Regions from separate parts of the Homo sapiens genome. Here region 2 is linked to region 1. The links are contacts of gene promoters, found by promoter capture Hi-C in blood cells and fetal thymus (Javierre and others, 2016). All regions are on one chromosome and are shown on one strand. The core of a region is centred on a gene start or on the middle of the fragment in contact, and the rest is flanking DNA. Distances in the headings are between cores, read along the strand shown. Region 1 holds the start of FOXN3 (forkhead box N3). Region 2 overlaps FOXN3 (forkhead box N3).

Region 1 (6,553 bases), core at 2,438-4,937:
TCCACCATCCCCATTTATCTTTTTTTTTTTTTTTAATTCGTATCTCTGATAATACAACTTCTGGGCTCAAAAATATTCAGTGAGCCACCTTTGCCCTCTGACCTTAACACATATAAATTGCTCACCCTGCTATTCAAGGAGTTTGGTGATATGATGCTTGCACTCTTACCCACTAATCTGTGTGCTCTTTAGGGACAAAGACCGTCTATCTCTGGCAGCTAACACAATGCCATGCACTTGGTAGGCACTCAGCAAATATTTGTTCAGTGAATGAGTTCCTCTTCTACTACAATCAAGTCAGATTTGGTAATTCTGTGCCATCGATTTCTCTTGGAACAGCAGTTTGTAAGCAAAATCATCCCCTTGTGCTTTCTCAAAATACACATATCCAGGCACCATCCTAGAAGACTCTAGTTGGTTAGGTGTGGCTTCTGGATGGTTCTGATGGGCATCCCCAGGTGAGAAGCTCAGGTCAAGAACACCCCTTCCCCATTTCCACAGGTTAAACAGCAACCCACCCTTATTAGATATCCCACTTCCAAAGTCATCTCCCCTCCCTTCCCCAGATGTTTCACCATGTCCCTTGTCTCAGCTGTTAGCAGTAGGGAGTGGTGGGGGGCCATGCGCGTAGGGGAGTCATGTGACTCAGGCTAGGCCAATCGCACTATTTCCCTGAGAAGTTAAACTATGTCATGGAAGGCTTGAGGCAGTTCAAAGGTGGTGGGTGCTAAAAGTCAGAAGGCCTCAGGGCTTGCTGCTGGCAGCCCTGTGTGGTTATCATTGAGCAGAGGAAGCCAACCTGCAGGGTAGAGAGTGGAGTCACCTATAGAGGGAAGCACGAAAGGAATATGGTTCTGTGCAGGCCAGCGGTGTGTGCCTGCCCAGCCTCCCCGTATTTCCTCTCATATATCCTTTGTACTGGAGTCTCTTTGCAGGATCCCTCCCCAGAAGACTGTCTTTCCAGGCCTGCCTCGGACTCTTCCTATTTTGGGCAGTCTCTCAGGTCTTCCCGACTGCACCTGCTCACCTACTCAGTTGTACTGCCTCAAGGGGGGCAAGGTATATCGGGTTTTATACTTAACTATTCCATAAATAGCCATGCTGCTCTAATAACCAATACAGTGTGTGTGTAGGGGGATTAAAGTTCTTGACCAGAGAAACATTTAGCAAAAGAATGCACAAAACATCAAGGGAGGGGCGCTCTTCTCCTTGGAGGAGGAACTGAGGTCCCACGCTGATGGGGGCAGATAAGCCTGGAATTGAGGACTTCCAGCTCCCAGATACTTATGTACTCTCCAGCCCATGCTCAGATGGGGCTGCAGAATGGTCCCATCAAGTCCTCTATCAGGAAATAAGTGTTTCTCAAAGTGATTTCTAGGGCACATATACAATTCGGCTGTTAAATGTGTTTGTAAAACAGTGTAGACAAGACATTAGACAATGCAGCTTGCTTATTTGTGACTTCTCAGGACCTAAGACGCAAGGGTCCTTTCTGAAAGTTCATGGGGAATTGTGAATGGGGTTGTTCCCAAACAAATTTGGCCCCTGCACCCTAGGTCAGGAAGCAAGTCCCAGAGCTGAGGTTCTATGGAATTAGAAGGTGGAAAAGGCCACATTAAGCCCTCCTTTGGCTTTCAGCATTTTTTCCCCCATTTCAGATAGACCGACAGGCAGACATGTGTCCCCTGCTGTCCACATCAGGCAGGGCTGGTCCACCACTTCCTCTTCAGGGTGACACCTTCTCACATCTCTTGCTGCAACTGTAATGGGAGAGAGAAATTAAGAAATATGTTTGAGAATGCAAGAAGCAAAAACACACATGGAATGACATATTCCATGTACAATCACCTTTGGCTCACATCCCCTCTTTTTGAACTCTGAGAAAGCAGGAGGGGACTGGGGCCGGTGAAAATAAGGTGCCACCTCTACTTAATATAAAGAGATTTCTGGCTATTGTGTGAGTGTAGCTGGGGGACTTGGGGGTGGGGTTGGGGGCTGGGGATGGAAGAGGAAGATGTAAGGGGGCGACTTCGTCCTCTCTAGGCCAGCAAGGGCTTGGACAAAGGTCTCTGGCCTTGGTTCCTCTGGCGGAGAATAAGCACCCTCAACTGACGCGCTGATGGAGGGGCAGGACCTGCATTAGCCGGAGCTACAGGAAAGCAGGGTACACATTGTCTCATCCTGGCTTTGTTACCACTTCTAACCCTGAGAATCTCTGGCGTGAGACTTCAAAGATCATCTGACTTGTCTCTGCCACCTTGTGCCTTTTGCTTAGTGACTTTGGGTAGGTCGCATCAAGTGCTCAGTAATCAAAGGGGTGGGGCTGGATGACCTCAGGCTACCCCTGGGCTTCCACCTCCTAATTGTCTCCAGATGGGGAGATGCCACACAACTTGGAAGTAGTAAGGTCTCCGGTGAGTCTGAAAGGCACATCTTTGCTGAAGACTTGTCACCTGCCCTCTTGAACCTTTGTTAGGGGGAATGACTCTCAGATTGGGGGGGGGGGGTCTATTTTTTGAGACAGAAAAAATTTTCAGAAGCCTAACTGGTGTTTCCCTTAGTCCCTCCTTTTGGCTAGGTTTAAAAGTACTGCATGCTAGAAAGCTTTCTCCAGGTCTACTCGCTGTTTTTTTCTGTAGTTTTCAGACCGCTCACGATGTCCTGTCCACTGGCTCAGGAGGGGGTGGCAGGAAGGGTGCCCTGGGCTTCTCCTCTGTAGAGGAACCAACCAATTTGGCTACCTGGGAGTAATGTGCAATCACATTTTTATTTTTGTCACCACCAGGGTGTCCTGTTGGACTCTCTCCTCTCATCCTCTCCCAAGGCGGCTGGTTGGTGTGGCTTTAGCAGTGGGTGCTATTATTTGGAGGTGCCTAGAGACTTAGAGTGGTGGCTGCACCATTTCGCTGGGTGGCTTGCGAATTGTCAGTCTGGTTCCTGAGAGCTCAAACTGAGATGGAAATGAGACCTGTTTTCTCTCTAGGCCGGCCGGGGCGTTCCGCACAACCCACTTGAGAGGCCCCACCGGCGTGGCCTTTAGGACGGTGCCTCTTGTCTTGTAATGGCCACCGGCCCTCCCTCGGGAGACACGCGGCCACCTGGGTGGGACGCTGCGGTGCTTACCTCCGGGACACGAGGTGGTCGCTGGGAGAGGGCTCGGAAGGCCCTGGGGGTCCTATCAGGACGCAGCACTGGGGAGACGTGGAATCTCCTCTTCTCACCCCCACAAGCCTCGCCCGCATCGTAATTCTTTTTATTTTTACTTTCGAGCCATGTAAGGCATGCAGATGGGGTAGGAGCGTTCCCGCGACACGTTGCCAGCAGCGCAGCGCCGGCCCGCTCGTGTGGCCGGAGCCCGGGGAGGGGACAGGGCACGCGCCGCCTGACCCACCTGCCCCACCGCCCACGGTCGCGGCCGCCCTGGGTCGCGGGACCCGCGCCGGTCACCCCCGCCCCGCGGGGCCCAAGAGGCGAGGCCGCGCGGCCCAGCCCCGGCCTCCGCCCTGGCTGAGTGCTGGGGCGCGCGAGGGGCGCGGGCAGGGTCCGCCCCGGCGGGTCAGTGCCCCGCGCCCCAGGCCGCTGGCGGCCAGGCCCACGTTTTCCCTTTCTCCGGCTCCCTCCGCCCTCCGCTCTGTCCCTCCCTCCGCCCTCCTCCCTCCCCGCGCTTCCCCTCCTCCTGCCTGGTCATGTGTCGCCTTTTTTTGTTTGCAGTGGAAACAATTTCTCGCCGCTCGGCGCGCCCCGGCCCGACGCGCCGCGGCGGAGGCGAGCGGGAGGCGGGACGGGGCGGGGAGAGCGGCGGGGCCGGCGGGAGGACGCGCGGCGCGCCCGGCGGACGCCGCAGGTCCCATGCCGCGCCGCGACCCCCGCGCCCCTGCCGCCCGCGCCCGCGGCCGCCCCCCGCCGCCCGCCGCCCCGGGCTCGCCGCGCCGCGCCCGCGCGTCCTTAGCGGGGCCACCGAGCGATGCCCGCCGGGCGCCCGCGAAAGTTTGTCGGCTCCTGCTGAAGGGCAGCGGCGCCCCCGCACCCCCGTGCCCCGCTCCGGCCAGGTGAGTTTGCACCCCGCTCCTGCCGGCTCCCGCGTGGGCTCGGGGGGCACCCGGGGCGGGAGGCGCGTCCGAGACGGTCCTGGAGACTACCTCGCCGCTCTGGGAAGACGAGGGACCCCGCAGGTCCTGGGGGGAGGGTCGGGTGTGGACCCCGGGAGCCCCCGAGCCGGGAAGTTGCCGGGTCCGAAGAGTTTCCTGCCCCGACGTGCGTGCTGCTTCCCGGTGCCTCGGTTTCCGAAAAGACGCCCGCAAGGAACAGAGTTGGTATTGTCTGCGGAGGACGGGGTCCCCGCCGTTCCGGGCCGGGGAGGGGGTTCCGATCAAGTGGAGACCCCAAGATGAGAAACAGGCTCCTAACAAAGATCACCCCCCGGCCAAACTGTGCAGACTTGGCACAGGCAACGAACGTCTCCGGAGACCCCCGAGGCCCGACCCCCCTCATCCCGGCCCTGTTTGAAACCCTCCTTGGGCCCTGGATAAGTTGGGGGACGGCGGGCTTTTATTGATTTGTTTTCGAGGCTCGCCGCGGTGCGGCCAATAAAAGGTTTATGACATCTGACCGGCAGTGAAGGTATGCGAGCTCCCAATTGCCCTGTATATGGGGATAAGAGCAGTTTCCCCCGTTGCCCGGCAACGCCGCTGATTGACGCGGGGTGCAGCCAATCGCCACTCCCGCAGGTCCCCTTGAAATGTTTTTGACAAGTACAGTAGACGAGAGTGAAGCGCGTGCGTGCGCGCGCGCGCGTGCTGGGTGGGCGGGGGTGACCCGGCCCCCCAAACTCGCTACTGCTCGGCTCTGGGAAGATTTCTTAACTTTTTAAAGTTCGCATCGAACATCTGTTCAGAGCTGGGCCAGTAATGTCTTTGTCAGTTATTTGGAGACCTTCTGTTTACTAGGCGAGAAACTAAGCTTTCTTGCCGCATTTTCTCCGTTAAAAAATAAAGAGGGTAACAAAACACAGCAAGTCATAAAAAAAACAAAAGAGGGTGTGTGTGTGTGTGTGTGTGTGTGTGTGTGTGTGTAGAGAAAAGTTGTAAGGAGGTCACCAGTGAATAACTATTTGCGTATCTGGTGGAGCAGCCTTGTTGGCAGCAGATTAAAAATGTTTGCTTAACTGCAACTCACATGATCCAGATTCTTTTTTTTTCCCTCTGAAACAGGAGGAAAAAAAGATTTGGCGAAATCTGTAGTTAGAGTATAATAATGGAAAACTCCTCAGCTGTGGTTTCTGGGAACTGTTTTTTTTTTTTTTTTTTTTTTTTTTTGGTTATTGTTGTTTTGTTTTGTTTTTACATGGAACTGTAGTGATCAGCAGCTCTTCACCCTGTTGGTATAAAATGCGGGATTTATAGGGATGCAGTGAGTGGTTGGAGAGTACGGGGTCCCAGCACAAAACGCACACATGATCCAAGGGTACTGAACTCCCATAACCCTCTCTTCGTGACAATGCCACTTTTTCTCCTAAAACCATATTGCTGGCAGTGTTTGTTTAAAACAAAAGGAAACATGGAGAATAGCGTGTTAGTTCCTCTGGGAAGCTACTGACAAATAAGCAAATTAAAAAGAAAGAGAGCAGCATGTTGTCATAGCAACAGTGCAATTAAATTACTTTACTGTCAGCCATGATATAATTTTCCTGTTTGGAAGCTCAGGAGACATAAAACTTTCATTTAGAGCTAAAGTTGACTTCAGTGGCTGGGTAGTTCTGTTTTATACTCTACTGTGGGCATATGCTGGTCATCAGAAAATTTTCTGATGGGATCTGAGGAAACTTTAAGAAAGACAAGTGGTGCTATAATTCGTTCATAAAGAAGTTAAAAGCAGGATCAGACCAGACTCTGTTGTATCCCCAAGCCAAAAGATGCTAGCTTGTTTTTTGTCTGAAATGTGTCAGGGTAACCTCCTTATTTGACAGAAAGAAATATTCCCTGTGAGTGAACCCAAGACGTCTGGAGCATCCTGCCTGGTCTGTACTGCAATGCCTCATGAAGTTTTCTCTCCTTAAGAGTTGGGCATCTTGGCCAGGCGCGGTGGCTCACGCCTGTAATCCCAGCACTTTGGGAGGCCGAGGCGGGTGGATCACGAGATCAAGAGATTGAGACCATCCTGGCCAACATGGTGAAACCCCGTCTTACTAAAAATACAAAAATTAACCAGTCATGGTGGCACACGCCTGTAGTCCCAGCTACTTGGGAGGCTGAGGCAGGAGAATCTCTTGAACCTGGGAGGCAGGGGTTGCAGTGAGCGGATTTTGCACCACTGCACTCCAGCCTGGGCAACAGAGTGAGACTCTGTCTCAAAAAAAAAAAAAAAAAAAACCGGTTGGGCCTCTCACCACAGCTCCCCCTTAGGCCTTGCGTCTAGCAGGTTCTACCTTTTGGAAGAGGGAAGGTACTATAATTCACAGGCACCCTTGGCTGGTAGGTTAGTGCCCAGGATTATGCCTTCTAGAATTCCCTAATAGAGCTTCCACAGCTGAAGTGGCAGTTGTTTTAGATGTGGT
Region 2 (6,227 bases), core at 3,669-6,168, 150 kb after region 1:
GGCCAGCCTCTGCCACCCACCAGCTGAGTGACCTCGAGCAACTCATCCAATGAGTTTGAGCCTTTCCTTTCCAGTCAGTCAAATAGATAGTAGTACTTACTTCATGGGATTTTGTGAGAATTAAAAGATAATGTTTGGACAGAGACCTGCACAGTGCCTGGTGATGATTGGGTATCCAATAAATAGAATTAATGATGCTTATGATAGCATTTCTGCAATGTCTTGCAATTTCCTAAGATGTTCAGTACCTTCCACCCCCGACAGACAACAGCAAAAGCAATAGTAACATAGATCCTTCCCCAGCTGAACCGAAGTGATACCTTCAGGAATGTTTCAAACTGTTTTCAGTCTCTCTGAAGCTCCTGATGCATAAGGCAAATACCCACAGGATGGCCATGGAAGGAGTGGAATAGGAGTCCTGACTGGCTATCCTTTCTGACCCTTCTGAGTGACTAAGATCCTGCAGAAATGTGACAGAAAAAGAAAGTTCCTTGGAGATGGGCTGGAATTGCTTGTGATCTGTCCCTCTGATTGTGTTAGAACGCTTCCAGCCAGGTCCAGGTCCGTTCTGCCTTAGCACAGCGAATCAATCACTGTGACATGGAGGGTTTTCCAAAAGAGAAAAGATTTGTTCAGAAAGGTACCAAGTGAGGCAGGAGAACAGCTCTCAAATCCACCTCCCTGAAGACAAGGCTCGGGGATATTTATGGGTTAGGGAAGCAGGGTGGTCTAACGTGTGGGGAAAAGTGATTGGCAATGGGGAAAAAATGAAGTAACAGGTTCATTCTGCACAAGCATAGTCGGGGTTCATGGCATCTCAAAGGAAGTATGTTCAGTAAATGGCAGCATTAGCGTGATCTGGGGGAGGTGGAGCTTTTGGCCCTCCAATGTCAAAAGGCCACCTCTCCGGCACTTGCTCAGGCCCAGTTGAAGGGGCAGTGGTCCTAACTGGTTTGAACTGGACAGGAGCTTGCCCTAGTTTCTGAAAAACAACTGTTGCGACCATTACCGTGGTGACCTATGAATGTTATCTGTAAAGTAGCCAGTGAAGGTCAAGTTCCAGCATTCAGTGGCAAGGCCTCAGCTTCATGGAAAAAGGAAAAAAAAAAACAAAACAAAACAAAAAGCAAGTGACCAAAAGCAAGCAGTACAGGCAGATCCGATCAAATTAACCCCTTGGTTTCAAGAATGCAAACTAGACTAAGACATTTGCAAAGACTAGTTTCAGAGACCACAGGGAGACTGCAAGACAGCCAGCCATACTTGCAGTGATACGGAACTTTACAAAGTCATTGAAGGGCTTGTGCTGAACTTCTCCCTACCTCATGGTCACCGCAGCATACACTGGTTGGCCCCTCTTTCCGTAGGCTGTGATTTCTAATGGGGCTTGATCAGGATGATCTGGTCCTGCTAATTTGACACAGTTGCAGTTTGGAGTTAGAACCACAGGTCTTGGTGTTGATGACGTCTGCCAGTAGAGATGCTCCCAACGTCCTAGTTGTGGATTCATTTCCCACATTTTGAGGAATTTTGTGAGGATATTGTGATAAGAAACAAGAAGGCTGTGACATGTATAAAGGTCGATTGTGTGCTGATCATTTGTGTATTGTATTTCTCAGGCTCTGGGAGACTTTTGTCTCTGTGTTTTGCCATGCATGGCCTGGAAAAGAAATAGTTATGAAGTTTTCACTTTTTGCAGCTGTCATGGGCCCAAGTTGCGGTGGCTCACATGGACAGTATGGGTTCCAGGAACCCTGTCAGGACAGCTTTCTCCTCCCACCCCTCCACTTCCCATAGATTCCAAATGGGAGGTGCCAGCTTCTTACAGAAACTCCCTGGCCTTAGTGACTGGTGGAGGGATAGGCACGTGGCCCAGTCCAGGCCAGAATTCCACCCTAGGCTTCACATCCTGGCTCTGGGAGCTCCACAGGGTGTGCTGGCCTCACGAGCCCTGCACATGGAATCTGCTGGGGTACGGGAAATGGCACCAGCCCAGAGACGCACAGACAGGGGCCACTCTCTCCTTGCCCTACCTGTGGCTGGATTTGATGGGCTCATCAATTCTCCTTTATACTTAAGCCAGCTTGAATTGGGTTTTTCTTATGTACAGTCGAGAGTCATGATGAATACAGTGTTTCTAATTAACAGTGTTAGTTAAACTAAGTATACAGCACTGGTGATTTCTGTGTGTCAGTGTCATTTCAGCCTCTTTGTTGTCTTAAGAGGCCCACTTAGTGGTTTGACTGTCCCTTGAGAGAATAGAAGGTGAGCTTGGAGAGTTTTCAGAGACAGTGACTTGATTTAAAGAAAGTAGGATCATAGTAGTAATACTCCTCACATCCACGTATCCCCCATTATAGCTGCAGAGACCTGGCTTACATGTAATTTCACTTACTTCTTGAGAGGTAGGTGGTATCTTCCTGATCTTACAGATGAAGAAACAGAAGCTTAAAGTCGAGCATTTGGCTAAACCAAGCAGCATATATGTATATGTGTAAATTAATGTGTAGCTGTATGTGTGTGTAGGTGCATATATGTTTAAGTGTGATGAGCATGTGTGTGTGTATGTGTGTGTATGTATTATTATGAAGGATTTTCAGAGTCAGGATTCAAAGCCAGGTCCCTCAAATGCTAAATTCAGGTCTATAGCACAAATGCTATTTTAGGCAATCCCCATTTCCTCCAAGTTCATTGACTCACATGTCCAACCAATGCCATTTATAGTTAGATGGCCTTATATAGAGAAGAACTGTGTTCACCCCCTGCCACGGCCCCCACCGCCAACACGCACGCATACTCTGATCGTTTTGGAAATGGAACACATTTTCTCTTTTAACATCTGATCTTCCCCTCACTGCATTTTAGATTCATTGTGAACAATTTTGAGTCTCATTAGAGGTGTCTTAATTTTAAAAATTAAGTTGGGAACTAGCAAGTGAGATTGAAGAGGCTATATCTTTGGTTCTGACCTGGATTTTCTTTACTCAATTACTCTTCAAATTATACTGATTTGAGATGTGATTATTATTATTTTTCCTAAGTAGATTGGATAATGAGAGAAATGCAAAGGCATGCTAGACTAATAGTGATCTGAGTTTCTGCTACCTCACTTGTCCTTCCATTTCCCCTCCCCCAGCCAGAGCACCGCCCCAGCCCCTGCTTCCTGGTCTACCTGGTGAGCCACCTAACCTAGCGAAGGCAGCTGCTTCCCTGTCTTTCCAGCGTCAGCCCAGCTATGACCACTGCAGCGCCAGGGATCCTGGCCAACTTGCGCATTGTAATCACGTGATGCAGTGCTCACCATCCTGCAGCAGTTTCCCATGTTAGTTCCCAGCCCTTCCTTATATGCCTCATTTAAATGTAAGATTTAAATTGTACCGTCTACCCTGAGAACCCACTGTGTAGCCACCCTCATCTCCTCAGGGTCAAACCTGCTCACAGTACCTTTATCAGAATTGCCCCTCAACTGCTTGAAACACATTTCTTTCATCTCCCTGTCTTTTTTCCTGTAGGGAAGAAGGGAAGAAGGTAAACTACCTAAAAGGGAGATGGTGATGTTTTCTCCCCGCATCCTGCTTCATCACTTTTCCCCTTTGCTTTTACATACACACGTGTCATGCTCAAGTGCTGTCTGTGCATTGACTCATGGCTCGTGCCTTTGGTATGAGCCTCATTACTGGGTGAGCTTCGCCAAATGAGCTTTTGGTGTTGCTGCAAATACAATGGCGTCTCTTTTGTTTTAGGGCCTGGAGTGACATTGTGATGGAGAAGTGCACAGTTGACCATATTGAGCCGGTCAGGAGGGTAGATTTAAGAGAGGCAGCAACAGCAGCCTCTCGTATAAGCAGCAGAGTCTTCCCTGACACCTTACTTATTTCCCCCAGGATCTGAGCTCATTCGCCATGGCAGGAACCACTAAGATTGTTTGGTTATCCCGTTACTTCTGTCTTCCAGCCAGACTGTAATCTCCTTGAGGCTGGAGTTTTCTTATCTCTATCTCCAGCACCTTGCAGGTTACCCAGCACACGGTAGGAGATCAATGAAGGTTTGTAAAATATATCCATGTAACTTACTGTTATGGACTGAATTGCATCTCCACCGCCCCCCCAGCCGCCTCCAAAATTTATATGTTGAAGCCTTCACCACCACCGCCCCGCATGTGACTGAATTTGGAGATAGAGCCGTTAAAGAGGTAATTAAGATGAAATGAGGACATAAAGGAGGAGTTTTTATAAGGACTGGTGTCTTTGTAAGAAGAGATACCAGGAATGTACATGTACTGAGGAAAGGCCACGTGAGGACACAGTGAGAAGTCGGTCACCTGCAAGCCAGGGAGACAGCCTCAGGAGAACCCAAACGTGCCACCTCTTTGCTCTTTGATGTCGGACTTCTAGCCTCCAGAACTGTGAGAACATCAGTTTTTGTTCTTTAAACCACCCAGTCTTAGTATTTTGTTCTGGCAGCCTGAACTGACTTAATATATTTACCAACTGTCCTAGCACCTTGTATCCCAAAGCTGGGACTGTAGGGGTCAACTTTGGCTGCTAAGGGCAGTTTGGGAAGATCCCAAGGTTGGCTGCTTAAGATAAATCCACAGTAATGGGCAGCTGTGTCCCACCCTGCACTCCTCCTTCACCACCAGTGAGGCAAGTCTGGCTAAGGCTGTTTCAGGCATTCCCACCCTACCAGGGAACGTGAATGTCATCATCAACTAAGATTCTGGGCCTCTTGGAAATTGTTTTAACTTGACCTACATCACCGTATGCCCCGAGACCTTGGCAGTTCTGTACACCCATGAATAATAGCAATTAGCATGAAAAGAAAGCTGAAAGAGTCTCAAGTAGGACGATCTGCAGTCTGGCCTTGGACCTTCCACTTACTAGCTGTGTATACTTGCATGTGTAATTTTACCTTTTTGGGGTCTATGATTTGTTTTTAAAAGTGGACGTGCTGCTATAATGGACAGTTCCTTTTCCCTCTTTTAGGCATTAACCCTGGCTTGCAGGTGGAGAGCCCTCCATCCCCCCAGTTCATTCATCTGTGTGCTTCCAAGTGACGTCTCTACCACTAGTTTAAGTCACTCTCATTCCTCTGGCTACACTGGTGTGTCTGGGTGGTCATGTGATAGAGGCTGGTCTGATTACAGTGATTCTCAGACCTTTTCCAGTGAACACTGGGGAAATGCTAGATTCAAAGCTGCTGTTTGTAGCCCCAGGGGCTGCCGGCAGCCACCTGTGAACAGAGGAGAGCCTGTCCAAGCCTATTTTCACCAGCAGCGTTGCTGAGTTGGGGGACAGAGAGTAGGGCTTGGTAAATGCCATTTGAAAGGCATCACTGTTCCTGGTTTTCCCAGTCACAGGCGATAAAATCTCTTCAATTCGGTTTTTAAAAATCGCTAAAGATGGAAAGATTACTAGCTGATAAAGCTATTAACACCTGCCCTGTACACCATACAGGAGCTACAGGAGCTTTCATAATACAATTTCTAAATAAGATCATGAAGGCAAAGGCAAAGGTTGTGACATACAGTTTGAACACAGGGAATTATTATTTGGAAAATCCAAATAATAATTTGGTGACTGGTGCCTCTTGGACTCAATATCATGCTCTTTGAACATCTGTGAAAAGATGTGTACATTCTTAGCACAGTGTCACCTGGTAAGGAATGAATATATGGAAGCTGTTGTTATCATCAGTAAGAATTATTGCAGCAGTGATAGGAGGGGGATGTAGAAGTCTTTGAGAATTTTGATTTGATGATGAAGATAGCTGCATGGAATCCTACTTGAGAAGGAACTGATTCTGTTTCTTTTGGGGTTAGGTGGTACCAGCATCCTCCTGATGTGGATGGCACTTGTTTGTGGAAACTGAGTAGCGTCCTCATAGCCAGGTTCCTGACGATGGAAACTCATGGGGAGCCCTTTCCTTGTGAGCCCACCCTGAGGGTGTTCCTGCTCTTCTTGGGCCTGATTCTCATCTGATCACCTTGGCTGTATGTTGCCCCAGCCAAGGACAGTATACAAAGACAGGCCAAGGTTCTGGTTATCCTTGTGATGTGATATAGTTTGGCTGTGTCCCCACCGAAATCTTATCTTGAATTGTAGCTCTCATAATTCCCATGTGTTATGGGAAGGGACCCCATGGGAGATAATTGAATCATGGGGGTGATTTCCCCATGCTGTTCTGTCATGTTAGTGAATAAGTCTCATGAGATCTGATGGTTTTAT

Evidence for each region. The method cuts DNA at HindIII sites, captures the fragments that hold promoters and counts their contacts. A CHiCAGO score of 5 or more calls a contact.
Region 2: a fragment that was not itself captured here is called in contact with the fragment with the promoter of FOXN3 in region 1 in 1 of 17 cell types (total B cells); the score reaches 5.5 in total B cells.

What each region holds. Positions count from the first base shown.
Region 1 is chr14:89,414,367-89,420,919 of GRCh38, reverse strand. FOXN3 (forkhead box N3) reads left to right here and starts at 3,687. Exons shown (of 6, transcript NM_005197.4): 1 at 3,687-4,049. FOXN3-AS1 (FOXN3 antisense RNA 1) reads right to left here and starts at 3,566. Exons shown (of 2, transcript NR_036500.1): 1 at 3,124-3,566; 2 at 1,127-1,760. RefSeq lists silencers at 3,306-3,595, 3,636-3,845 and enhancers at 3,541-3,835, 3,460-3,992, 3,993-4,526, 4,541-4,835. The HindIII fragment of the contact is 2,355 bases long and covers 2,607-4,961 here.
Region 2 is chr14:89,264,369-89,270,595 of GRCh38, reverse strand. The region is part of intron 4 of FOXN3 (forkhead box N3); the gene reads left to right. Among named protein-coding and RNA genes, the nearest start is that of FOXN3-AS3, 83 kb to the left of the region's middle. The HindIII fragment of the contact is 4,938 bases long and covers 2,450-6,227 here.